Linked DNA regions of Homo sapiens: region 2 is linked to region 1. The links are contacts of gene promoters, found by promoter capture Hi-C in blood cells and fetal thymus (Javierre and others, 2016). All regions are on one chromosome and are shown on one strand. The core of a region is centred on a gene start or on the middle of the fragment in contact, and the rest is flanking DNA. Distances in the headings are between cores, read along the strand shown.

Evidence for each region. The method cuts DNA at HindIII sites, captures the fragments that hold promoters and counts their contacts. A CHiCAGO score of 5 or more calls a contact.
Region 2: a fragment that was not itself captured here is called in contact with the fragment with the promoter of DHCR7 in region 1 in 1 of 17 cell types (naive CD4 T cells); the score reaches 5.1 in naive CD4 T cells.

The regions. Positions count from the first base shown.
Region 1 is chr11:71,445,357-71,450,963 of GRCh38, reverse strand. It overlaps DHCR7 (7-dehydrocholesterol reductase), which reads left to right and starts at 2,571. Exons shown (of 9, transcript NM_001360.3): 1 at 2,571-2,674; 2 at 3,230-3,354. DHCR7-DT (DHCR7 divergent transcript) reads right to left here and starts at 2,436. Exons shown (of 2, transcript NR_186309.1): 1 at 2,079-2,436. RefSeq lists an enhancer at 2,038-2,539 and a silencer at 2,265-2,904. The HindIII fragment of the contact is 9,377 bases long and covers 1-3,944 here.
Region 2 is chr11:76,443,538-76,449,144 of GRCh38, reverse strand. EMSY (EMSY transcriptional repressor, BRCA2 interacting) reads right to left here and starts at 4,127. Exons shown (of 22, transcript NM_001300942.2): 1 at 4,017-4,127; 2 at 2,137-2,245. The coding sequence starts at 2,206. EMSY-DT (EMSY divergent transcript) reads left to right here and starts at 4,465. Exons shown (of 2, transcript NR_186348.1): 1 at 4,465-4,867. RefSeq lists enhancers at 3,126-3,420, 3,560-3,629, 3,670-3,719, 3,920-4,149, 3,850-4,486 and 1 more. The HindIII fragment of the contact is 738 bases long and covers 1,776-2,513 here.

The DNA of each region.
Region 1 (5,607 bases), core at 1,322-3,821:
CAATTTGAAGGGGCTCCCGTTAGCTAAATACAGGACAATACAGTAAGGATCATAACTCGGTCAGCTAAATCCATTAGGGCATACTGATAAAAAATAAATCAAAGAGGAAATCCCTACAGAAGAATGCTTGCTAATAAATAATTTATTAATAAATGTTGAGGGAATGATAAAATTAGAAAATTAACACTTTGTCCCAAGAAATAAGGGATTCAGGCAAGATTCCTCATTAAATGCTAGTTCACTGGGTGAAAGGTCATTTGGGAACAGCATATTTACAGTCTCAAAGTATCACTGCACCAATTACTCATTAATAACAAAAGGAAAAATGGAGACTTCTGGCAGAAACCACGGAGCCCCACTATCAATCATGGAGCACAGTGATATGTTGTCTTAAAAAAGAAAATTTTAGGACTCTTGAAATTTATTAGGTCAACTTGGGCAACAGAGCAAGATCCTGTCTTTAAATAAATAAATAAAAATAAATAAATTTATTATGTCAAGAGGGAAGTTAAGTCCTAGAAACTGGGTCACATAGCATGTTTGTAATTTTGTCTTTTAGATTATAGGCTGTTTTTCTTTATCATTCATGTTTTATAAATGACTAGGAGAGACCACAGACCAGGCCTGCTCCCCTTTTAATTACTGATCTTTATTATAGATTGTCTCTTATTATCCCGTACTTAGACCAGACTCCTACATCTTCAGTGTAAAATGTTAAATATACCTTCCACCTAAAAAAGACCACCTCAGCTGGTCAGATTATAACTTTATGCATAAAAAGATGTTAAAATTCTGTTAAACTTCCCTAAAATTTGTCTACATAAATGATCCCAAACATCTACAGTTCAAAATACTGATTTCCATTCTTTAAAATCTGTGCTTCCCAGGCAGCCTGTCCTCAAACTTTATACACTTAAATAAACTCTCTTTAAGCTAAATTCTGACCTGTTTGGTTATTTCAGGTTGACAGCCTTCTAACAAGATAAAACATGCTCTATGTAGTATATTATCCTGCCAAAAAAAGTGCATAGCCTGAATGCACAGTGTGGCTCCCTGATTAGATCCTGGGGTTTAAAAAAGGGCTGTAGGGCAGAGCTTCACACCTGTAGTCCCAGCACTGTAGGAGGCCACAGTGGGTGGATCGCTTGAGCCCAGGAGTTCGAGACCAGCTTGGGGAACATAGTGAGACCCCCCCCCCCACCCATCTCTACCAAAAAAAAAATAGCGTGTGGTGGTGTGCTCTTGTAGTCCCAGCTACTCAGGAGGGTGAGGGAAGAGAATCGCTTGAGCCCAGCAGTTCAAGGCTGCAGTGAGCTGTGATCGTGCCACTACACTCCAGCCTGTGTGACAGAGACCCCCGTCTTAACAAAGCAAAACAAAACAACAATAACAAAAGGGCTGTAAAGGGCATTATTGGGACAACCGCGGGAAACTGGAGATGGAAAATAGATAACAGCATTGAACTGATGTGGTCATTGTATTTTGGTAATATAGGAGGTTCTTGTTCTTAAGGAGTTGGATACCGAAGTATTTGGGAGGGGGGTATCACGGTATCTGCAGCTAATGGTGGGGGCTGAGTGGGGAGGAAAAAAGAAAAATACACATATATAAACACAGAGGGAGAGAAATGAAACGTGGCCAGCTGCTCACCCCTGCTGAACCTAGGAATCTGCGTGCTCACTTTACGTTCAACTTGTTTGTATGCTGAACATTTTTCAAAACAAAAAGGTGCAGGGAAAAAAGAAAACATGATGTCTCTCTGAGGGCCACAGAGACGTGGCAACCAGATCGCTCTGACAGTAAGGCCTGTTACCCGAGCTGTTGGGTGTGGGGTCAGCAGACACCTTCAGCTGCCCCCTCCTCCAGGGCTGCCTCGCCCCAGGTCATGCCCTCGCAACGTGGCCCGTGCGTCCGGCTCGCACTGTGGCTCAGCTTCTCCCTTTGCCCAGTCCTGCTGCTCCCTCCCCTCCCGTCCTCGCACAGGTGTGCCCCCCTAATAAGCAGGCCACCCAGACTCCATCTCGGGTCACTTTGGCGGTCTCCCAGCGGCGAGCCTTCCCTGACACCCATGTGTTTACCTGATCGTTTATGGAGGATCCTCTTCGCCCCGGGACGTGAGCCCTAGGACCAAGAACTGTGTCTGTTTTGCTCCTTGCGGTGCACCGGCGCCTGGACATACGCTCCATCAATGTGCGTCGCGAGCCGCTGAAGCCCCATTTGCCGAGGGGGAAACTGAGGCACGATGATCCAGGTGATGAGCCTGGCGCGTTCTCCGCGCGGCCCACGTGGCCACTCCGCCACGCCCCACCCCCAGCTGGTCAGCTGGGATCCCGAAGAAGCGCCAGAGGCTGCGCCCACCCACTAGGGCCCGGGCGGGCCGGTGGGGCGGCAGGGCGGGGCCTGGGCCGTCAATCTCGAGTCCGGCCGCTGCCGAATGGCGGGCGCGGTGGGCCCGGAGTCAGCTCAGGCTCCTCGACCAATCACGGGGCGCGGAGCCGCCGGGCGTGCAGGGTCCGCCTCCGATTGGCAGGCAATCGCTGACATCATCCGGGGGCGGGCGCCCCTGCCCTGCGGGTGACTCCGACCCCTGGCTAGAGGGTAGGCGGCGTGGAGCAGCGCGCGCAAGCGAGGCCAGGGGAAGGTGGGCGCAGGTGAGGGGCCGAGGTGTGCGCAGGTGAGTGGCCAAGGTGTGCGCAGGTGAGGCCAGGGGAAGGTGTGCGCAGTGGGGGGCGCTTGCCCAGGTGAGCAGGTGCCCACTCACAGGGCGAGGGTGGGGTCAGGGGTAGGGGGCGTGCGCGCAGGTGGGGAGAGGGTCCAGCTCACAGGCGAGGGGCCGCTGGGGCTCCGGGGAGGCGGGGCGGAGGCGTGGATAGTCCCCCTCCCCCACGAGCCGGCGTCTGAGGGATGCTCTGTCCCCGCGCTGTCTGGAGCTTCCCCGGGCGAAGGCTGCCTGGCTCCGGGGTCGGCTCCTGGCCCCATGCCGCGCTCCGCGGCGGCTCTTTCTCCTGCCCCACCTGTTGTTCGCCTCCCTCTTTGTCAGTGCTGAGCCAGGCACAGCAGCTTTGCGATGGGACTGGCTTGTCCGCCGTCCTCCCTGACATGCGGCTGTTGAAGCCCTGAGCACTGGACCTTCTGCCTCTTGCTTGACTCCTACTGTGGGCCTTGAGCTTCTGCCCTCTCCTGAAATGTCAGCTGCCTGCGGTCTTATTCATTTTTGTGTTCCTTGCAGGACTTTAGCCGGTTGAGAAGGATCAAGCAGGCATTTGGAGCACAGGTGTCTAGAAACTTTTAAGGGGCCGGTTCAAGAAGGAAAAGTTCCCTTCTGCTGTGAAACTATTTGGCAAGAGGCTGGAGGTAAGTGTATCTCAGTGCCCTGGATCGTGGGCGCAGGCTATGGCTTCACAGCGTTGAAAGTACAGACAGACTGGTCCACCAGCTCTCGAGTGCCAACGACTGTCTGTGCCTCTTATGAGTAAAATACAACATACCAGGGCACCTCCCCTTTGTCTGTTCCCAGCCGTCTATTGGGAAGGATGTTACTTAGATGTTTATTGCACAACTCAATGCTTGTGGCTAAAGAGCTGACTCCTGGGTGAATGAACTCTGTAATAAGCTAAAAGTACTTCTTTGGTCTTGTTTTAATCCCTTTTGACAACATTCTCCCAGTGGCTTTTTCACACTTTAGTTCTGAGGTTACACATCCCCTGACCCTTTTGCAATTTCCCAGTGTTTTACATAATTGATAATGTTGGTACCAGGCATTGTCCCCTTGTAGCTTATCCATGGCTTGGGGCAAGACGAATGCCACCCCATTCTACTTAGCCTTCCTGTAAGGCAAGTGTGCATGTGGGTGGTCTGGATTAACACCAGTCAGTGTGGGAACTAGGGATCGGAGGGAGTGGGGGCACTGAGCTGGTAAGTTTTGGCTGGGAAGAAACTAAGCTTGTATCTTACCTTGATGAGAGCCTGGGGGAGAGGAACTGTCTAAAGCAAGCCAGCTTGTCCAGGTGGCTGTGATCTTGAGATCAGACTCACTAGCGTGTCAGCTTTTCTCAGAAGTAGTTTTCTTTCATCCACTTTGATTTTACAGATATAAGGAGAGTGACTGGCACTCGCCAGGCTCTGTATTCAGTATTTGGGGCCGGAGAGAGACACGGTCTCTTCCTATCAAGAACTCTTCGTCTTGTTTTGTGCATCATAGGAACTGCATAAACTAACTTGTGTAAATTGAATGAAGTGCGGGTACTGAAGTTCTCACACTGCATAAGGAAAATGTCTTTCATCGTTGAAATTTTTTAAATGTGTGTGAATTTTTATTAAAGTAATTCATGCACACATTTTTTTAAAAATCAGTGTTAAAAGGCTTCAGAAGAAATACTCTCTACCACATCCCACATCCGACAGTCTTGCTTGCCAGCAGCAAACACTTTTCATTCTTTCAGCTACTTTTGTGTTGTTGTTTGTACCTACTTGTTTCTAAGTAATTTCCTTTTAGTACCCCTAACTTTGCAAATTCCCTTCTGTGCATACAATAGTCAATAAATAGTCAGAGTATACATTGTTATGACAAAATTACCATTATTCACTGTTGAGCCAAGTAAGGTCCTATAATAATGGCTTGGTTTCTTTTTTTCCTTCCTTATATGACTTTTTATTTTTCCTGGAGTTAACAGTTGCCTTCCTTTTTTTTTTTTTTTTTTTTTCATTTGGTAAGGTTTCTATGCATCTCTCATTCATTTTTTTCTGGATGCTCTAACCGAGCTGTCACATATATCAATAATTTTCCTACACATTCAGATGCAACAAAATTCATCATTTTCATTTCCTCTCTTTCCTAGCCATTCATCTTGTACCAATGTGGACTGGTTTCTGGTTAGTCCTGCTGCATAGCTGTCCTCTTGGGACTTGCCCCTGCCCTTTTGTGGACATGGCTTCAGCAGCTCTCTTGGGTCTCCAGTTTCCTGGATCCTATGTTGTTGTCCTTGAGTAATAGTTCACATAGGAGTAGAATTCTAGGTTGCAAAAAGTTTTCCTCAAAATTTTGAAGTTTTTCATCATTGTCTTCTAGAATCCAGCTTGCTGTTGAGAAATCTAAGCCTACTGTGATTTTTACTCCTGTTTTTTCTCTAAAAGCTTTCAAGAGCATCTTTTAAAAAATCTCAGATATTTTAAAGCTTCACAGTTATGAACTTGTTCTGGAAGTGGGGATGTCACTGCTTCCCCCAAATTATAACCATGTAGAGCAGCTGTGGGTACCTAGAGACATTCTGTGTTCTCTTCCCCTTTTTTTTGAAGGGTGATTATTGATGGTCCTACATGGGCCACTGTTCTAGGCCCTGGTAGTAGAACAATGAAGAGGACACACAATTCCTGCCCTTGGGAAGCTTACATTCTAGTGAGGGGAGACAGACAATACACACACACAAATGAATACTTCTAGGCGATGGGGAGAGTTACTAAGAAAATAAAGTACCCAGTGGAGGGCCTTGGCAGGGAAGCTGGGGAGCAGCTGCTTCAGATTGGCTGAGAGGGAAGATCTCCCCAGGAGGGGACATTTTACATGAGCCCTGAACAAGGACACCTGCAAACGTGCTCTAAGCAGAGGAA
Region 2 (5,607 bases), core at 895-3,394, 5.0 Mb before region 1:
ATAAAATAACAAACACATATGAACATTCCAAAAACGAAAGATTTGCCAAACCATTTATATAAAGCCCTCAATTTGGTCCATTAAATCAGCCATTCAAATACACTATAGTCCATAAAGCCCCGTGTTGGAGCTACAGCTCAGGAATGATCACAAAAATAGGGAAGGGGAGAGGCAAGACAGAGAGAAGGAAGCATTTATCTAGCACTGACACATTCAGTATATATAAAGAAATTCTCTATCCCAATTTCTTTATATGTATGTAAAATCTAAGTATTTAACATCTTATATTAAAATGATTTATAACTATTTTTTAAAGGATACAGCTAATTTTTAAAAACTGTATGTACCTTTTCTAAACTTTGGACCTAGAGTTAGCATGTGAAGACAATTCAAAGGTTTCATTGTTATGATAATAAGCCAACGGGTGGGGAGGAAGTCTTTGGCAAATCACTATCAAAGCTCACCTCCCAATATGAGGGGTCAATGAAGATGATATTACCATACGAGATGACTGTTTTCTTTTATATAGAAGCACTCTGCAGCAACATTACCCACACAGCTCTGATTAAATTAGGAATAAATTTAGACTTAAAGGTTACCATTTTTATATTTAAACATAATCTCTCAATTCAAAGGCCCCCAAGCCCAGAAACCCCAATTCAATCTACTGTCTTTGTGATATGTTCTGCAATTTCAGCTATCAAATAAATATGAGTCCAACTTTATAATCGGCAACTAACAAGTTATATTAATTGTATGCAAGTGTAGAAAACTATCTTCAGATTAGGACTAAAAGTTTGGTTAAAAAAAAAAAAGATTGACATCCCCCACACCCTCTCCAAAAACAACTCTCTTAGACTTGCTTTAAAAGATGCTGCTAAAAAGTGATTTGAAATCCTCATAGTGGCCTTGGGTGGAATAAAAAGGACAGGCAGGGCCAGAGCAGCTATGATTCTATCTGATTTACAAAGAAAAATTCCCAACAAAGATTTACTATGACGGGCCCTTTATGTATACTGTTAACACACGTAACAAACTAATGAGGCAGAGAGTGTTATCCTCTTTTTTTTTGTTTTAACAAAACTATCAACAAATTTAGGAAGAATAAATAACTTGTCCTTGGTCACATGGGTCATTTGTAATAATACCAAGACCCCAGGTCTGTCTAAATTCAAGACCTATACTTTTCCTTTAAAATCACAGATATCTAAATAATGCATATCCACTGCCAAAACATTTAATCTTCTTTTTCAAATTATTTTTTTCAATTATTTCATTTATTGTGCTAGCCAGAGACTACAGTGGTAAATAAGACAAGGTCCTCATAGTCTAAGGCAGCATTTCTCAACCAAAGATCCTCATTTGAACTACAGAACACAAAATGATTTGAGTAATAACTCTTTTTCTCAATTTTCCCAAGGAAAGTAATAACTAATAGCACTCTAGATGCACAGGGCGAAGTTAGTTCTTTACATACAATGGATACCTTAGCATTAGGGTTTAATTCTTTCCCTCAATGCTGGTTGAGAAAGGCTGCTGTAAGGGAAAAGAAACACTAAATAATAAATTACAAGCATAAAATGTGTTTTATTATTGATAGTAAAATATAATTTGAAAAAGTGAGCATGGCTTACATCAACTTAGAATTCAGAAATAGTATGTAATTGACACATACAATCATGAAGGTTAAGAGTATGTTAAAGTGAGACTGAAAGCATACTCCCTGGTTCAAATACTGACTCCATGTCTATCACCATTACCTTGGCTTCTAAGCTTCATCTGTAAAATGGAGACGAGACAAAACAAACAAACAAAAAACACCTACCTTTTAGGCTTTCAAAGGACAAAGCTAATTCTTAAAATATTTAAATTAGATGTTGTATAAAAAAGACTCAGAATAGCCAAGTAGCCCTCAATAAATCTTAGCTACTAGTATTATTACAATTCACACACCTACTATTTACAAAGCACTATGTTAGGCACTGAGGGAAACAACAATGAGTAAGATGGGAACTGTATCTCCAAAGAATTTCTGATGTAGCGTGAGATATGACATCCATGCAAACAGCTATGACCTAGGCAGAAAGGGAAAAAAGGTATCAGAGAGAGGTAAAAAACAAACAATGAACGTCATACCCAATTTTCGAAGAATTCTTTTGCATTCATCCCTGCTGAGATCCAGAAGGGTTGGCCACACAACAGGCATTGCTGCTTCTGTTTGGTAGCCCCAAAGAGCTTGTCCTCCCTACCAGAACAAAAAAAAAAAGTCAAATTACCAAAGTACCAAAGTACATTCAAGGGGCCACTCACCTGGAGATCCAGTCACAGGCTAAGAAGTAAACCAAAAAGATATTACTATTTTACAATCCTTTCTCACCACCACACTTTCCAACTTTTGAGAAATCAAGAATTAAGTCATTTGAACTATCACAGTGGAAAGAACACAGGCTTTAGAGCCAGACACCTCTAGGTTTCTAGTCCCAACTTTTCAACTTACTGGTTAAGCCTAAGCTTTACACATCTATAAAACAGAGGTAATACCACCCAGTTTGTTACGCGTATTAAAGAACACTATATATAAAGTTCTTTCATAGTGGCTGGCATTTCATTTAATAAACAGGTGGTACTACCAACCTGGGGCAAGTTGACTCCTGTCAGCTTCCTCATTTATGAATTACATGAGATAAAATTTGTAAAGCTCCTAGCAAGTTAAAGAAACTTAATAAATAACTCCTCGTGCTCGCTTCAGCAACACATATACTAAAATTGGAACGATACATACATATATATATATACACATATATATATACATATATATATACACACACACACATATATATATACTCTCTCAAGTCTTAATGGAATATGAATTTTGATCCTGTAGTTATTAAACAGCCATTTACCAACAGTTGAGCTGCCAGGAACTTACTTAGAACTGGGAATTTCCTAGTGTAAAAGACAAAAAGACACGGCTCTGGGGGCACGCGCAATACCTGCTTAGCACAGAGTAGAGCCGCTCTAAGTATTTGTTAAATGGGTAAGTGAATGGTTGACGCGACTGAGCAAAACGAATGGATGAATGAATGAATGAACGAGCTCACTGTCTAGCCTAGAAGTCAGACACCGAACCGAAATAACTGCTATATCCCGTTCCAGGCGCTGGGGCTGCTAACTCCAACTCTGTGTCCCGAGGTGAGCCCCCCTCCCCCTACTTCCCATAGTCCTCTCAGCTCAGAACAAACCCAAGGCAAGAAGAACTGGACTGCGCGCCCCAGCCGGCAGTATGACATAAAGAAAAGGGGTGGGGAGGAGGAAGAAGGGGCAGAGCCAAAGGAATCCTCTCCCTCCACAAGCCAGTCCCCGCCTCCCGACAGGATCTTGGAGGCGGCCGGCGACTGCTCGAACCGAGCACCACGTCACGGCATCCCGGCGCGTCCTAGCCAGGGGACCCCAGAGCGGGGCCGCAACGCATCGGAAACCCGGGCAGTAGTTTCCGGAGCCCGCTCGGGGAACCAGGATCTTGTAGGATCCTTCCCCACTCAAGTGTCAAGGAGACAAGCCCGCCCCGCCCCCTCTCCAAACACGCACTCCCTAGCAGCACCACAACAAGAGCAGCCAGCCCAGGCTCCTCACCCGGACCTCTCGGCGCCGGTCCCAATGTCAAGTCCACGACCCAAGCCCCTCTGGGCCAGTAGCTGTTGTCAGGGGTCCCGGCCGGCACCCGCGCCTCACTCCCTCCCCAGCGGAGAGGACAACCGAGAGAGAGTAAGCCAGCGGATACCCAGCCAGACGACCTGGACTCACCGGGAGTCTCCCAGAGCTAAACCCCCAGAGTCCCAGCACCAGGCCAGCCAGAGTCCCCCTGAGTCCACCCCGGGGAGCCCCACGATCCCGTTAGGAAACAACGGAGGATGGGGCTGGGAGCCCCAAGCCGGGCTCCGAATGCTTGGCCCGGCGCTCCTCTAGCCTGGCTGGCCTGCCAGCTCTTCCCAGGACCCTGCCTGAGAGTCACCCACCTGCCCGGCCTTTCGGGGCTCATCTAAAAGGCTCCTCCGCCAAGACTAGGGGACACCAGGAATTGGGTTTGTTTGCGGTGCCTCTGAAGGGGCAAGATGGCGACAGGTAACAGGGCGCAGGCGCAGCCGCGCGCGGCCAGTCGGGAGGTGTAGTTCGCTTTTCCCGCCTTTCGGAGAACAAACACCAAAAGGCCTCCATTCATCTTGTCCTTCTTTTCCTCCGCGTTATGAAAGAAAAGGACAGACATCGCGGAGGGTGCTGGGAGTTGTGGTCCGAATCCAAACTCCAACCTCTTTCGCTCCAGGTTTGCTGTCGTACGCGCAAGGAAGGCCGGGATTGTAGTTCCCTTGGTTTCTCCTGCATACCCTCCTGTCTCTGGCTTCGCGCGCCTCTCCTGGGCTGCCGTCTCCCAGCCAATCGGCTGCGCTCTCTGCTACGTGTGGCGTCACACGTAGCGGCCAAGATGGCGCTAGCGGTTGGAGCAGGGGCTCTGCTGCGACCTTTACGGTAGTGAGGTTAGGGACGATGGGAGAGCAGCTTTGTTCCTGAAGTGCCGTCGAGGATTAGGATCGAGTTTCTTCGATCGTGAGGGCAATTATTAGTGGCCTCTAGCCCCCCAGATGGCATCTTGAGGAGAGAGAATCCACGCTACGAGAACTAACATAGTGGACATCGCAGTTGTCCGTAGCCGATTTGCGGGTTACGGAGTTGTTGCAAGTAAAGAAGGGGAAATCCGAGCGTTCTCGCGTTGGATTTCCTCCACGTGTGAAGTGGGAATGGTAGTGATATCTCGTGCTATCTCTGTCAAGGGCAAGAAGGAGAAGGAATTTATTTGAGGCCCTACGACGTGGTAGGTTCACCCTCAGCCTTTGTTCTTATTTCATCTTATTTGTGGAGAAGGTCTTTTCGTTCCTATTTTACAGGTGAGAAAAGGGGCCCAATATATAGTTATTTGCGGCCATAAAATAGAAGCCAGTTGCCTGATACTGAAGATTCAATGAAATCTTGTGATTGACTTCCCTCTTTAAATTTTGTACTTTGGGTAACATCGGATCCGGTAGAAACGCTCGTCAGAAAGAGTTTTTAATGTGCATTCTACAATTTCCAGACATAGTTTCCTTCTTGAAAAATTGGGTTAATACTACCCTATAGGGATCTTGTGATGCACCACGTAAACGTTGTAAGTTGTGAACCACTATACAAACGTATGAGACTCTTCATGTTCTTGAGTGGAACTGTAGGTTAGGAAGAGAAGGTAAATAACAGCATTTAAGTTTCCTACTACTATTTGCCCATTAGCTAAAAATACCCTCCGAGGTCTAGGAAAGTCACTGTTGTTGAAACCCAACCTACACCTTCAGAAAATCGTAAAGTGGAACATATTAATCACCAGGCCCTCCCTCCGCTGTCTCCCTGACCTTCCTATGCATCCAGTTGCTTAAGAACTCTTGGAAAGATAGTAAGTGAAATCTTCATAGAGGATTTTTGTACTTTAACATATATTATTTGATTTGAGCCTCGCAACATTTCAGTGTGACAGGTACGATTAAGGTCTTTCATACTATGAATGAGAAAAACATAGATGTACCA